Regions from separate parts of the Homo sapiens genome. Here regions 1, 3 and 4 are each linked to region 2. The links are contacts of gene promoters, found by promoter capture Hi-C in blood cells and fetal thymus (Javierre and others, 2016). All regions are on one chromosome and are shown on one strand. Each heading gives the region's core, a stretch centred on a gene start or on the middle of the fragment in contact. The rest is flanking DNA. Distances are from core to core; before and after follow the strand shown. Region 1 overlaps LOC105370660 (a long non-coding RNA gene). Region 2 holds the start of PAPOLA (poly(A) polymerase alpha). Region 3 overlaps SETD3 (SET domain containing 3, actin N3(tau)-histidine methyltransferase). Region 4 overlaps SETD3 (SET domain containing 3, actin N3(tau)-histidine methyltransferase).

Region 1 (3,862 bases), core at 192-2,691, 2.8 Mb after region 2:
AGTGACACAAAGCTGTTGCCGATAATAACTGGAGCCTTTTTCTGAGCCAACCGTTCCACCTGGACCTCAGTACAAATTATTGTTTTCAATTACCACCTGTGTATTCCTTCCCATGCAACTTATTGATGTAAAATTACAGCTACACCGGTATAAATAAGTTATGCTGCAGTTGTAAAATGGAAGAAATTTTGTTGTAGCAATTATGTTCAGCAAGATGACAAAATAAATTTCCAGAGCTGTGCCTGCAGTAACCTGGGGAATTTAAACCTCATAATTTCCATTCATTTCAGATAATTTGGAGTAATTTCTATATGTAATAACTTTGTAATGAAAAACACAGCGGTACTGAAGTGATTTCGCTCCGTTTTTTTCTCCTATGGTATACATGGCACAAAATAAATGATAAAAATAATATTTCCTTTTTATATGTGTGTGTGTTGAGTAATTCCTTCAGTAAAAATCATAAACTAATACCCAGACTAAATCTCTGTCCACAAAATGAAAAATAAATTGAGTTAAAGAAAGTGAAAAAGTATGAAGGGCTTTGGATGCTTTATTGTGACTTTATTGAATTGTTTTGTTCCCATGCTCCCTCTGATCCCTAAGGGTTACAGTTCCCAAGTAAGGGGCAAATGCAGGGGAGCCCCAGATGGCTCAGAGGAGGTAGCAGGGGGACCCCCAAAGGCCAGGAAACCCTCGCCAGATGGTGATTTCTCCCCAGAAGCATAAGAGACTCGTTCTCCTCTTGAGATGAGCATCTTTAACGGTTGATTTCACTGCGACTGGAAAGGACCTGGTAGGCTGGTCAGTGGTCCTGTCAGTTCTGACATATTTCCTCCTTTAATTAAAGACAAGGCAAGGTGGAGCACCAGTGCCCTGCCCGACCTATGACGGTGACACCTGCCACTGATGTATGCAGCCCCTGAATGCCACGATTTATTCATCGGAAGCTCCCACTGAGCTGTGAGAAGGTGACAGGAATTACAGCAGCTGCATTAGCTCCCAGATCCACGCGATTAGCCTCTGCCACTGCCACGGTGCACATCAAGGGTTTCCTCAAAGTGAAAAATCGAGGCGTCATTCCCTAAAACCTGCCTGCTAGTAGTCACAGCTAGTGACTGTCAGTAGCCTCCCCACCAGCCATGAGGGCTGCCTGCTGCCTTGAAGTAGAATGGCTCCCCTGCCCTGCAAACCCTGGCCTGCTACATGCTGCCAGGGTGCCCATCTGGAAGCTCAGGCTTTGGCTGAGTCGGCTGGGGAAAGGGCATTCATTTCTCAGGCTCTGTGGTCTCCCTGTCAGATGGGCTTCACCGCTCTGTATAAGCGGTGATGAGTGGGTCTTAGCAAAGCGCCTGGCCCGGTCTCTCGCCATGCAGCAGTCGCATCATAAGCATGGCTGTGATTTGTTCCTTCAACAACACACGCGGATGGGACGCCTGCTGTATGCCAAGCACACCATGGGGGACAGGGCCCAAAGATGGCAATATTGTGAGGTGGTGGTACTGAGGTTCCAAGTTCAGGCAAGCCTGAATCTGACACACCACCCCAGCTCCAAAGAACAGAGCAAGGGAAAACAAAAGTTGATGACATAGTTCAGCAATTATAGTAGTGAGAGTACAGCCCATCACATGGACTCATGGCCATGTGTCCCAAGTGCCATGGGAGCAAAGCAGCAGGGCTCAGGGGTCCTGAGCACAGATTGCAGAATTCTTCCAAGACCCTCAAGACCTACTCATTCAAAGAGACACTCTGTCTAATTACATTGTGAGGCATTTATCTTATCTAATCCTCAGAAGAGAAAGACTTTCATCCCCCTTAGACAGGAAACCCGAAGTCAGCCACCACGAGGTAGAGCCCAAATCACCCCAGGTCTGTCTCTGTGTATAACCACTATGCCGTCCTATACCCAGGTTGGATTTCCAGCCATCCTGCAAGCCAATAACAGGCAGCTGAAAACATCACCAGATGTGGAACCAGAACAGCAAAGACAAAGTCAGTGCTGGATCGAGACATGGAGGAAGGAAGAGAATTACAGAGAAACAAAGTTTGCATTAAGGACACAGTATACTCAGTTAGTAGAAGAGATTTTGTTTGTTTGTTTGTTTGTTTGAGACAGCAAAATCCAACAAGACACACCACGGTTATGAAACCAGATAATTGAGGCAGAGAGAAATGGGGTGGAGAGAGTGGGGTAAGACAGACGTTTCTGCTGGTAAAATTTGAAACAGACAAACAACTCATGTTGGGACAGAGTTTTAGTGTACAAAGCCCTTTTGCTTCCCTGACTTGAGTTTGTCCTCCCAGCAGCCTGTGAGAAAAGCAGGACAGGGCACACACAGCTTGATATACGCCTCCGAGATCGCCAGGGTCAAGTCTCCGCTGCGCCCGCTGCTAGCTGCAAAAGCCTTCATGCGGTTTCTCTTCTCGACATCCCAGGTCCTCCTCTATCAACGCCTCTGTGAGCATCTCATCAGATGACCTCTCAGAAAGCCCCCAGCACAGGCCTGGCACAGAGGAGGCATTGAATAAATGATAGATATTATTATGGAGGCGTTTTACTCATGAAACAAGAGATTCACATTCAACTCAGTCTAAGGTACACACGTCAATATTTCAGGAATGAAATGGGAAATTTCCCCCAGATTTCACTGGTACATAATCGACTAATATTGATGAAGCATCTTGTCTCAGCGCTGCTGTAACAAAATACCTGAGACCGCGTAATGTATACAGAATAGATATTGCCGGGCGCAGTGGCTCATGCCTGTAATCCCAGCACTTTGGGAGGCCAAGGCGGGCAGATCACCTGAGGTCAGGAGTTCAAGACCAGCCTGGCCAACATGGTGAAACCCCATCTCTACAAAAATACAAAAATTAGCCAGGCATGATGGTAGGTGCCTGTAATCCCAGCTACTCAGGATGCTGAAACAGGAGAATCGCTTGAGCTTGGGAGGCGGAGGTTACAGTGAGCCGAGATCACGCCATTTTACTCCAGCCTGGGTGACAGAGTGAGACTCCATCTCAAAAAAAAAAAAAAAAAAAAAAAAAGAATAGACGTTGATTTCTCACATTTCTGGAGGTTGGCAAGTCCAAGATGAAGGCGTCAGAAGGTTCAGTGTCTGGTGAGGGCCCCAGCCTTTGCTGCCAAGATGGTGCCTTGTTGCCACATCCTCCAGGGTGGACAAACACGACAGCTTCACATGGCAGAGGAGCAAACAGGCCTAAGCTAGTTCCCTCCAGCCCTTTCTCTCCTAATCCACTCATGGGGCAGAGCCTCCATGACTCAGTCATCTCCCCAGAGGCCCTACCTCTGAATACCACCACAATGGGGACTGAGTTTCAGCGTGAATTTTGGAGGGGACACATTCAAATCATAGCACACCTACTTTGTGCCAAGGACCAGGCTAACCTTTGCCAATACCCAGAGGAAAACATTATAGTTGTTATCTGCTAGTAGCAGGTCACTGGGCTCTGAGCTTCTCAAAGCAGACAGTCCAGATCCTACCTTGTCTCCTGTGCCTGTGACGGGCACATAGGAGGGTATCAGTGACTGAGCCAGCTGGACCTCACTACAAGACCTAATACACAGGCAAACTAGAAAATCCAAGGCCAGCCGGGCGCGGTGGCTCTCACCTGTAATCCCAGCACTTTGGGAGGCCAAAACGGGTGGGTCACCTGAGGTCAGAGGCCAGAAGTTCGCGACCAGCCTGGCCAACATGGTGAAACGCTGTCTCTACTAAAAATACAAAAATTAGCTGGGCGTGGCAGCAGGCACCTGTAATCCCAGCTACTCAGGAGGCTGAGGCGGAGAATCGCTTGAACCCAGGAAGCGGAGTTTGCAGCGAGCCGAGATCTGGCCACT
Region 2 (3,731 bases), core at 96-2,595:
GAGGTATTTCACATTCGTCGAACTGACACCCGTGCGTATTTTGCACTTCCAGTGCCTCCTAAACGAACTAGCCTCATTTCAAGTGCTCAGTGGCCCTAAGTGGCCAAGGGGCTACACTAATGGACAGGGCAGGTCTAGGTCCTGTGTTTTTCCCATTCGGAGTCACCAGTCCTACTAGACATTCTGTGAAAAAAGGGAAAGCCTTTGTGAAACTTCCTGAGGACTCACAAATGCACATTATTACATTTAGAGTTTAGAACTTTGGTTAAGGCAGCGTCCTGTATTTGATTCTTTCCCTCTTCCTCTCCGCTAACCCCCTATGTGACACCGTAGAACTTATAATTCGTTCTAATTCGCAGATGGAGGGCATATGAGAGAGGAGGCTCTGCCTCAAACACTTTCTCAAACTTTTGCCGAGGGGTGGCGAGAAGGTAGACTTCCAGGTCCCACCCGATATAGATTAAGGGCTGGAAACACAGTCAAGGGGAAATTATGACCAAGACAACCTTTGCTAAAATGCCAGCGGTGACTGCCATTGATGTTCCTATAAAAGGTCAGCTCTGTCAGGAAGTTCCAGTGCATCATTTGTTCAAAAGTAAAATCAGCCCGTGTTCCAGAATTCGCGGACTGTCGTCAGTCCTAACCTACACATTTATTCGTTCAACAAATATTTCAGCGCCTGGGTCAGGCATCAGGAATACACTGGTGGTTAAAACAGACGGAAAGCTCCATCTGGTGGGACGCAGTCTGGGAGGGAAAGGGAGTCCTGGGGACATGTTTTCGTCGGCTCTAGGCTAAGCACCTCTCGCCGTAGCACACGGGGTCGGCACCGCTGCCCGGCGAAGTACTTGTTACTTTGCAGTCCAGTACGAAGCGGCGGAGTAACCGGTTCCAACCCAAGGCAGCGACTCATGCGAGTCGTTCTAAGCGCCGCGCTGGGGGGTACATACGGTGCACGCGTGGGTGCCTCACCCCCTGGCAGCGCCTCCAGGGACGCTGCTCCGGGAAAGAGCAGCCGCCGCGACCTCAGGCGGCGGGAAAGGTGGGACCTCACAATGCGCCGGAAGCGGTGCCTCGTGGCTTGGGATCTCTCCGGGTTCTTCCTTGCGCCGTCCACGCCGCACTGCCCACGAGGGCGTCCCCGCCCGAGGGACAACTCACCGCCCGGGGCCTCCCTGAGCGTTCCCTTCCACCATCTGACACCCACTGCTAAGTGTGAGAGGACCCAGGGGGTAATTGCCGGGCCGCAGGCGGCCTTAGGAACTCCGCTTCCCGTGAGGCTTCGCGGCGGACGGCGCTGGTGCGCAGGCGCACGCACGGCGTGCGTGGTGGCGTCAGCAGTTCTAGAACGTTGCTGTGGTAGCGCTCGGGCGCCATGTTAGGACGAAGGGGAAGGAGGAGAAGCGCTTAAAGCGGCGGGAGCGGTGCGGGAGAGGGGTTGGACCCAGGGCTGAGGCAGGCCCCCCCCTCCCTCCCGCCTCAGTGGATCATGCCCAGGGCGGCAGCGGCGGCGGTTGCGGGGGGGAAGTGACTGGGCGGTGCCGGCGCCGGAGACGATGCCGTTGTAAGTAATTTGTATTCTGTTTTCTTTCGCTCGCCGGCTGGGCCTTGGGGGGCGTCCGGGAAGGGGAAGAGGTAGGCGGAGAGGGTGGCACGCGAGCCCGACCCTCCCCGCTGGTAGGAGGCAGGCAGGACTGGGGACCTTCCTGTTTCCTCGCTCGCTCGCCGCCGCACTTCCCCCCGTGTGCTGGGTTCCCGCGTCCCCCGACCCTTCCTGGCTGGGTCAGCTGCCGTCGGGCCGGGGGCCTTCCCCTTCCGGAATTGCTGGCGGAACCTCTAACTCGCCCGGCCACTCCAGCTTCTCCGCCCCGTCCACAAAGAAAATCAAAACAACCCGAAAACAAAACATTGCCTGGTGGTGGGGAACCACGACCCTGCTGCACGCGGGATCAGCACTTGGGGTTCGGGCTCGCTCTCGGCGCCCCTCGGGCCCATTCGATGTTGCTTTTCTGTTCCTGGTCTGTCTCAGTTTGCTCACTCTCTTCCTCCCATTTCCAGATGCCTGTCTTGTGCGCCGGAGTTAGCCCCTTTCCACTGACCTTGTCTGAATGTAGGAGCACGAGTTAAAAGCCCAGCTTTGAGCGTTGAGTCCGCCTGCCTCCACCTCCGCCTCCCTAGCATTCACAGGCGGTCGGAGAAGGGGGCACTTCACAGGGTGCCCTCCTCCAAAACGACTTATGTATTGCTTTCCCTGTTTTGTTTTGATGGGGTAACCAGGTTTCATTCTGTTTCCTTCTTTCTCTATCTCTGGTGATACTTTTTTTTTCCTGGTTGTAAGGCTTGAAGCTAGTCTCTTTATGCTTTCTAATGCCACTGCGCCTTTTTCTTTTCTTGGTGGGTTTTTAAAAAGTTTTTTTCTCCCCTCCCCCTTTCTGATAATGAGATATAATTTGGCAGCTCATTGCCAGTAGATTACGGATTTTTTTTTTCCTGCAAATATACAGCATTGTAGAGGCCTAAATAGTGAGACTGCATTTCTTCCATTTTTGAATATTGAAGCGTAAGAGTGCCTCTTTGAGACCAGGGACCGAGTTTTCTTCATCTTAGTAGCCTCAAAACGCAACATGTAATTGACACTCAAAGTTTTGGTTAAATTCAGGATAAAGATTTTTGTGGTTTCTAGACATCGAATGTAGTAACTCAGGTCTATTTTTTTTTTGTAAGTAAGGATAATTTCTTTAGCACATAATCACCGATTGTAGTTTTACAATTATATATGTGTGTGAATGTGTTTCTTTACAGGTGAGACTCTAACTTTGGCACAGACCTTAATGACTTCTATCGCAATTTATGTATTTTAAAAGGATTTTCCATGGCTCCCACCCACCCCCTTAGGTTATTAAGAAGTCTATCACATTACTTCTGTGATGAAAACGTTTGTTAGACTTAACTAACTATACAGGTCTAAAATCTTGGAATCTGCATGGTTTCTGTTTATTGATTTTTCCCTTTCATAGAATAAGAGACCCTAGGAGAACTGAGTCTAAGCAAGATTGTTGTGGTGTTTCTCAGTTCAATAGGAGATAAATGTTTGCAGTGATGTCGTGATGACTGCGTTATTAAGTTAACATTTTGCTGTCTTTGAAAAGGGACTTCTTTTTCTGATAATCATACCAGCATTAAAAATGATAGATGTAAACCTTAAAAGGCTTCAATGAAGAAATAACATTAAGTAATTTGTGTCTTATTTCTAGGAATTAAAAGTACTTTTATACCTACTTTCCCCCAACATTCTTTGAAGAGGGAAGGTATACATTTCTGTGAAAGACCTTAGGTATTTCAAATTCTTCGCGAGTTAGTTCAAGTGTGTAAAATGGAAGACGGGGCCAGGCGCGGTGGTTCACGCCTGTAATCCCAGCACTTTGGGAGGCCCAGGCAGGTAAATCGCTTGAGGCCAGGAGTTTGAGATCAGCCTGGGCAACATGGCGAAACTTCATCTCAACAAAAAACACAAGTTAGCTGGGCGTGGTGGCTCATGCCTGTAATCCCAGCTACTTGGGAGGTTGAGGTGGGAGGACTGCTTGAGCCCAGGAGGCTGAGGCTGCAGTGAGCCTTGATCATGCCACTGCGTTCCAGCCTGGGTGACAGAGCGAGACTCAAAAAGTAAGTATACGATAATTACTGTAGTAAACAATAGAGAGACCAAAGAATGCCTAGTTAAAGAAAAATAG
Region 3 (3,774 bases), core at 865-3,364, 2.9 Mb after region 2:
CCCAGCTACTCAAGAGGCTGAGGTGCATGGATGACTTGAACCCAGGAGGTGGAGACTGCAGTGAGCTGTGATCGCACCACTGCACTCCAGCCTGGGCAACCAAGTGAGACCCTGTCTCAAAAAAAAAAAAAAAAAATTCTCAGTTAATGAAAAATATGCCCATCTCTCTCACTTGTCAGGAATTTAAATAGGAATTACAAATACACACAAGTGAACATCTCAATTATCTCCAAATATATTTAAGAAGAGGAAAGAATTCAGCAACTGCTCTTAGCATTTTATCTCCCGGCACATTATCTCCAAAACCAAAACAAGCCGATCCTATTCATGCTGAAGAAACAGACCCATGCTTCTTATGTGATTAGGAGACAGTGTCTCTTTCAGAGCAAAATGCCCCACAGCTGTCACTATTTACGATTCAAACTGAAGAACTGCGGCTGCCAGCAAACCAAACTTTTATTAGTATTAGTTAGAGTAATTCAAAGATACAGCAATTGTCTTGACATGACAAATTGTCTATGACTAGAGAGGAACTAAAGAGAATCAACAGACCTAAAAGGATTCAAGCAGTTTTAAGAAAACAAGCTATCTAATGTTCAAAAAAGTTTATTAACTTTTATTTGTTAGTAAAGATCATGATAAAATTCAGGATTTTTAGTTTTGAGTCATTTTATATTCTTTGCATACAACATGGACGTTCTGTTTTTTTAAGCTTTCTTAGTGGCTGAAAGTTCTTTTCAAAGGCCCCCAGTATGAAGGTTACTGTTTCCTTCCCTCATCTCCTTCCTCAATCTGCCCAAGTTGCACTCTGCAATGATGGAAGCTGCAGGTGTGCGGCAGAGCTTTCTCTCCGCTACTTTTTAAAAGTGAAACTGGACTCATTTCACATTTCTGGAGAAATAAAGCCTACAAAAAGGGGAGTAAGACAATGTAGCATGTGGCCTGCCTGCAGGCCAGGAGCTCCTGCAGCAGGTGCCCTCCTGAGCTTTCCTCCAGCAAACAGGGCCTGCAAATTATCCCTGCACCTCATTCTGGCCACCACAGTGTGTGCTCACCCCGGAGGGTACAGAGCCCAGTGCCCTCCACCCTCTCTCCCTAGCTCCTGCTCAAGCTCCTCCCTATGCTAAAGGTCTTCAGTCATACCCCTCCCCTCCTGCTCTACCTTGTCCAAACAGTCGCTGAGCTCCACAGTTTAACTTGAATGCCATTTCCTCCAGACCCCTAGAGCACTAAGACTTTTTTCCATGTACTATGTTATCTGTGAACCAGCAGGAGCAATGTGGGATGTCCTGCACGTGGGCTCTGGAGTTAACAGAGGTGGGTTCTAAGTCAGGGTCATCACTTGCTTACTGAGCAACCTCGGCCAAGTTACTTATCCTCTTTGGGTTTTTTGTTAGTTTGTTCGTTTGTTTGTTTGTTTTAGACAGGGTCTTGCTCTGTTGGCCAGGCTAGGGTGCAGTAGCAAGATCACGGCTCACTGCAGCCTCAACCTCCCAGGCTCAATCAATCCTCCAACTTCCCAAAGTGCTGGGATTACAGGCATGAGCCACAGCATCCAGCCAACTTTATACTCTTCCCCCACTCCCCACCCACCTGGGTCTCACTCTGTCACCCAGGCTGGGGTTGGCTTACTGTAGCCTTCACCTCCCAGGCTCAAACAATCCTCCTACCTCAGCCTCCCGAGTAGCTGGGACTAGAGGCACGTGCTACCACGCCCAGCTAATACTTACCCTCTTTGAAGTGGAATCTACATCAGTAAAATGGGAGCACTTCCCAATCAAGGCTGATGGGATTAAAACTGAGCATGTACCAAATGTAGCATCATGCCTGGCGCACAGTGAATGCTTCACAAATTCAAGGAATATCATCACCATCACCTCTCTTAATTATAAATGCCTTGAGTACATGAACTGCAACATTCAATTCTGTATCCATATATATGCAAGAAAAGCTCACAGTTAACCCCTTAACTCGTGTTCATTACATTGAATTGATGAACCATTACCCAAGTACAAAAAGCACCAAAAGCTCCCACTTGAATAACCGTAAATCTAGCGACAGGGTTGCTTATGAGGAACAATGACTGTATCTCAGTTTGGGTTCTGCGGTTGGTGTGTGAACTGCCTCTCCTGTTTCGGGACTAGGTTTTTTCTGCCTCCAGCATGACGTCAAACCCTGGACTTGTGCTGCACTGCTCCCTGGATCCAGACATTAAAACCAAAGCCAGTGACCGCCGAGCACAGCAGCTTCCCCCACATGGGCCATGACTGCTTCCTCCGACCAAGGAAGTGCTTGGGCAGCTTCCTTCCAGAACACTTGTTCGTCTGTTCACTCACTCAAACACTCATTTACTCATTCCTACTCAGACTGTTCTGTACAGGATTTAAGGTAGTTAACAACAGCAAAACATACACACACACACACACACACACACACTCTCTCTCTCTCTCTCTCTCTCTCTCTCTCTCTTTCTCTCTCTTAAAAATGAAACCTCAGGGCCAGGAAATTTGTAAGATACATTTTAGGATGAAAAATAAAAACACAACCACGAGAGGTCAAATCTCAGCATAAGAAACCCCAAATGACTTGTTTTAAGCTAATATAAAAGTAGATGCTCAATACAAATACTTAACTCTTTCTGGGCATGAAATAAGAGGCTGTAGCCAGGAACATTTTGTGTTCTACACAGATTCTGTTTGCAATGTTATTTACTCTAACAGGATGCTTGGCATTAAAATGCTTGCTGGCAATTTCAGATTTAGAATGCAGAGTAGGTTAACAAATAAAGTCCTACGGTCCACGTATGCCACAGCTGACTACACAACATCACAGCATCAACTGATCCTGAACTGCTCTATGTAAGTGAAAAAGACTAGTGCCCCGTGAGTGAAATGAGGCTCTGTCAGGCTACAAATGTAGAATTTTGATATATTTACCCTATCCAAGATGTTTTAAGTTTTCTTCAAATGCAGTTGAGAATTATTTGCGTATTACAAATTAATACTGACAACACATCGAGGATTTAATAAAACATTTCTAGGGTAAAACAAATCTATTTCTTCTTTCTCCAGTATTGTATCTTCTCTCTTCCCAAAAGTACTGTAGTTTTAATCCACTTTACCTTTAATCTGAATCCCTATGCTTTACACTTTCATGATTTAAAAAGAAAAAAGTCAACATCTCTTTTTTCCTGAAATGACTTACCTTCAGTCATACAGAATACTCGGAGAAAAGCCAAAAGCTGAGCAGAGATGGGCGGCTCGGTAAAATGCAATGCAAAAACACTGGAACTGATAAAAGCAGAAAGCAAGATCAGTCACCCTGCTGCGGTTACCCACTTGCTCCAAACTGAGATTCCTTAAGTCTACAGCACGTGTGGTTGTCCTCAAGGAGAGCTGAGCTGGAATGGGTCATTCCAGCTCCTCATCTCAACTGTGAGCACGATTTTCAGCCCCTGCAAAAGGCCGCAGGCTGGGGCGGAGGCAAGCGGACATCCAGAATTGGAGACCATCCTCACAAGCTTTTCCTAGAGCCTAACAGCTGTAATCTCAGGTTGCACATAATACATTCAAAAATTAAACATACACATGGTTTTTAAAAAGTGTTAACAATAATTTATGTTGAGTTCACACTTTAATCATTAATCAAATATTGACAAGTTCAATAAAAAAAAGGTCTGCATAATCCATTTTCATTAAGAATGGTTCCTCTATTCCCTGGAGAACTAATGAATCCTAATTCCTGTCTTCTTTATCATTTTATGCCTCAAATGCA
Region 4 (3,428 bases), core at 470-2,969, 2.9 Mb after region 2:
TACCCCATCATAAGGATAACCAAAATAACCACATCTTTTAGCCTTTAACTGCTTAAAATATATGCCCATGTTTTAAAAAACAGGACATAATGAAATAAATGTAATATTTACTGTGCTACTCTTGTGAGTAAGTGTGAAAACTGTAGGATGAACTATATCTGCAAAAAAGTAGGAAAAGGAACAGGTGTTAAACTTTCAAGAAAGATTTTGCTTAATCTCAAAAGTTATCAAAGTAAAATAGCTATTATTTTATAGAAAACGATAAAGGAGGCCAAGGCATAAAGTGGTATAATTTTATCCTTGATGTACTAATGCACATTTCTGCAGCTTCAGAGCCACTTTAATCTCATCTTAAAGCTTCCCAGCAAAGCTTCGTCCGTCAACTCCCCAAACCTGCACTGTGTGTCTGCTGCGTGCAAGGCATTGTGGGGGGACAATGAGCAAGATGAGTTCCCTGCTTTTAAGGAGCCAACGACTTTGGAGCAGGGAGCCCAGACAGGCAAACTGTGACGTGTCACACCAGGATACATGACACGTGCTGGAATTCAGAAAAGAAGCTGCAGTCACTGTCGGGAAGAGGGGGATCTGGCAATGACTCACAGAGGAGGTGGCATGCGAGTTAAGTCTCTAAAGATGGGCAGGATTTTCCATGTGGGAAGGGAGACATCCCAGACAGAGAGTACCGGAAATGGCAGAGGCAGGGAAAGGAGGGCTTGTTAAGGGAAGCTGAGCAGCTGGGGTTTGCAGAATCGATTGGCACACAGAGGGATGAAAAGGTGCAATGCCAGTGCAGTCCCAACACATGAGGCCCTGCAGAGGGTGGCACAGTGCCCACGGCAGGAGCATTAGAGTATTAGCTATGTGGCCCCAAGCAGTGCTACCCATCTGGTCTGTTACTTCACATGTAAAATGAAGACAATCCCTGCTACCAGAGTTTGCTGGCACTTGAGAGGTGTCAGTAAGTTAGTATCCATCCAGGAACAAGGACTTTGTAGACACTGAGCACCCCCTGGTCTTCAGCATTTAGGAAAAGTAATCTGCCAAAGGATGAATCAAAACAAGTGGTGGAGGGGTTGGGTGCAGTGGCTCACACCTGTAATCCTAGCATTTTGGGAGGCCCAGGAGGGCAGATCACTTGAGGTGAGGAATTCGAGATCAGCCTGGGCAGCAGGGCAAAACTCCATCACTACCAAAAAATACAAACATTAGCTAGGTGTGGTGGCACACACCTGTAGTCCCACCAACTCGGAAAGCTGAGGTGGGAGGATTGTTTGAGCCAAGGAGGTGGAGTTTGCAGTAAGCCGAGATCATGCCACTGCACTCAGCCTGGGTGACAGAGTAAGTCCCCGTCTCAAGAAAAAAGAAAGAAAAACAAAACAAGTGATGGAGGAAGTGAGAAAATGTGGGGAGGGGGTAGGTGAAGTTTGAGAATCTGATAAAATCTATGGGCCTGATGTGGCAAGGAACTGAGGGTGGCCTCTAGCAACTGCCAGCAAGAAACCCAGGCACTGATGAACTGAAGCCTGCTGCCAATCACAGGAGTGGGCATGGAAGGCACCCTTCCCCAGTCACACCTTCAGATGAGACCACACCCTAACTGCAGCTTTGAGAGAGACCCTGCAGCAGACAGCCCAACTAAGCCATGCCTGCCTTTCTGACCCACACAAACTGTGAGATAATAAATGTGTGTTTTAAGCCTCTAAGCAGCAAAGAAAAAAAAATTTTAATTATGAACTTCTGGGTGTACTTCTCAAAAAAATTCACACAAACATATGACTATTAGTCAAGATGGGCTGGAATCTGCCATAATACGGTGTCTCCAGGAGTCATTTCTCACTCACTGCATGCTCCCTGGGTGCTGCCTGTGCCTCTGCTCCATGGGATCTCCACTCCATGATCCAGGAACCCAGTAAATGTTAGTGCCCTTCTGCACTGAACTGTTCTGTTCACAGGAACCAAACATATTTGCAGGAAAAAAAGAAGAGGATTTAAAAGGATGAAGAAAAAAGAAAGACACAAGGGAGGGCAAGTAAGTGACAGAACACAGACACAGGAGGCATCACACCACCAAGGGCACAGGCTGGACAAGAAAAGAAAAGTGAAGAAAAGGAGCACTGGTGAGACGCAGGGGAAACTCTGAGATGGAATGGAAAGAAGCCAAGAAATCTAAACATAAACAGAGCACCCCGATTCTCTTAAACGGGATGTAAGAGACTTTGCTTAGGGTGCGAGGCATTTGGTCTGTTTCATGATTGTCATTAATATGGTTATACCATTTCTTGTCTCTTTTGTTTCCATATATGTTCAGCATTCACTCAGTCATCTGATAACTAACATCCTATTTCAGTCCTAAATTTATGGGTTTTGGATATATCCAAGTTCTTTGAAACATGTGCTCTGTACTCCAGACAGACACTGGCTAGTTAAAACGTGAGGAAGAGGTGCCTCAACACCAGGAGTCTTGAACAGAAGCAAATCCAATATAGAAACCCATCTGAATCTTTTTAAGTCCCAAAGTTACTTATGAAAATCAAGTAATTTTAAGGCCTCCATAAGGCCTACCTTATATGCTTAAGGATTTATTTTGGTCTCCTCAATTCCACACACCTGTTTTCATTCTTTGAAACAGATGAAAACTGTGAAGTATAGAGGAAATGGTAAGATATTCTGGAGTGGGTCCAAAGACAAGCAGTCACTACCCCCAGCCATTAAACGAGAGGGGAGGGGGAGTGAGCCCAGCCTTGATGGCTCAAGATGGGCCTGATGGGCCCAGAGAGGGAAGCCCAGGAAACAGCGTTTTCAGTAAGTTTCCCAGGTGACTTATGCTCACTCGAGTTGAATCCAGGAACCAAGTTTAGCACTGGCTCCCACTGAGGAGGAGAAGAGTAAAGAAAGATCTCTGCTCTCTGAATAAAGCCCTCCCTGCCCTGGGTGCACAGATATGCACACACACATGCACAATGGGAGTGAAGTCTGGGAGAAGCTGAATTTCACACTGAGGTTTCTGGCCCATCCAGATCTGCCCACTTGAGGTTCTGGGTCACTGAAACCCTGTCAAACAGAATATGTGAAGCTTTAATTTTCTACCTGATGCTAGTTTATATTTTCTAGTGTTTTCTATTCCATGTATATATGACTTAAAATTCAAAAATAATTTCATGTTTTTAAAATAGGGAAAAAAGTCAAAGGTTTCTGACACCAGCACCAAAGACTCCAGCTATATTAATTACTTGTTCCTCAGGGTATTTAATACACCTTTTGACCTGACCTGCAAACAACGAACATTTATTCAACAGACATTTATCAAGTGCCAAACATTAGGCTAGGAACTGTAGCCAGGAAGGGAGTTTGCTCTCAGGCCTCTAGGGGCTCACGTGGCGCCACTGAGGAAATGAGGGAGAGGAAGCAGGTGATGCATCAGCGAGTGA

What was found. The method cuts DNA at HindIII sites, captures the fragments that hold promoters and counts their contacts. A CHiCAGO score of 5 or more calls a contact.
Region 1: a fragment that was not itself captured here is called in contact with the fragment with the promoter of PAPOLA in region 2 in 1 of 17 cell types (naive CD8 T cells); the score reaches 6.6 in naive CD8 T cells.
Region 3: a fragment that was not itself captured here is called in contact with the fragment with the promoter of PAPOLA in region 2 in 1 of 17 cell types (naive CD4 T cells); the score reaches 6.6 in naive CD4 T cells.
Region 4: a fragment that was not itself captured here is called in contact with the fragment with the promoter of PAPOLA in region 2 in 6 of 17 cell types (total CD4 T cells, naive CD8 T cells, naive CD4 T cells and 3 more); the score reaches 12.7 in total CD4 T cells.

Annotation. Positions count from the first base shown.
Region 1 is chr14:99,279,234-99,283,095 of GRCh38, forward strand. LOC105370660 (a long non-coding RNA gene) reads right to left here. Exons shown (of 3, transcript XR_001750881.2): 3 at 778-2,504. Among named protein-coding and RNA genes, the nearest start is that of BCL11B, 9.0 kb to the left of the region's middle. The HindIII fragment of the contact is 8,266 bases long and covers 1-3,862 here.
Region 2 is chr14:96,501,037-96,504,767 of GRCh38, forward strand. It overlaps PAPOLA (poly(A) polymerase alpha), which reads left to right and starts at 1,346. Exons shown (of 22, transcript NM_032632.5): 1 at 1,346-1,564. The coding sequence starts at 1,557. PAPOLA-DT (PAPOLA divergent transcript) reads right to left here and starts at 1,290. Exons shown (of 1, transcript NR_122121.1): 1 at 612-1,290. RefSeq lists enhancers at 51-647, 648-1,242, 1,160-1,419, 1,243-1,838, 2,994-3,495 and 1 more and silencers at 758-1,101, 1,540-1,659. The HindIII fragment of the contact is 10,690 bases long and covers 1-3,731 here.
Region 3 is chr14:99,401,021-99,404,794 of GRCh38, forward strand. It overlaps SETD3 (SET domain containing 3, actin N3(tau)-histidine methyltransferase), which reads right to left. Exons shown (of 13, transcript NM_032233.3): 11 at 3,205-3,290. Among named protein-coding and RNA genes, the nearest start is that of SETD3, 78 kb to the right of the region's middle. The HindIII fragment of the contact is 2,808 bases long and covers 711-3,518 here.
Region 4 is chr14:99,427,292-99,430,719 of GRCh38, forward strand. The region is part of intron 6 of SETD3 (SET domain containing 3, actin N3(tau)-histidine methyltransferase); the gene reads right to left. Among named protein-coding and RNA genes, the nearest start is that of SETD3, 52 kb to the right of the region's middle. The HindIII fragment of the contact is 2,703 bases long and covers 369-3,071 here.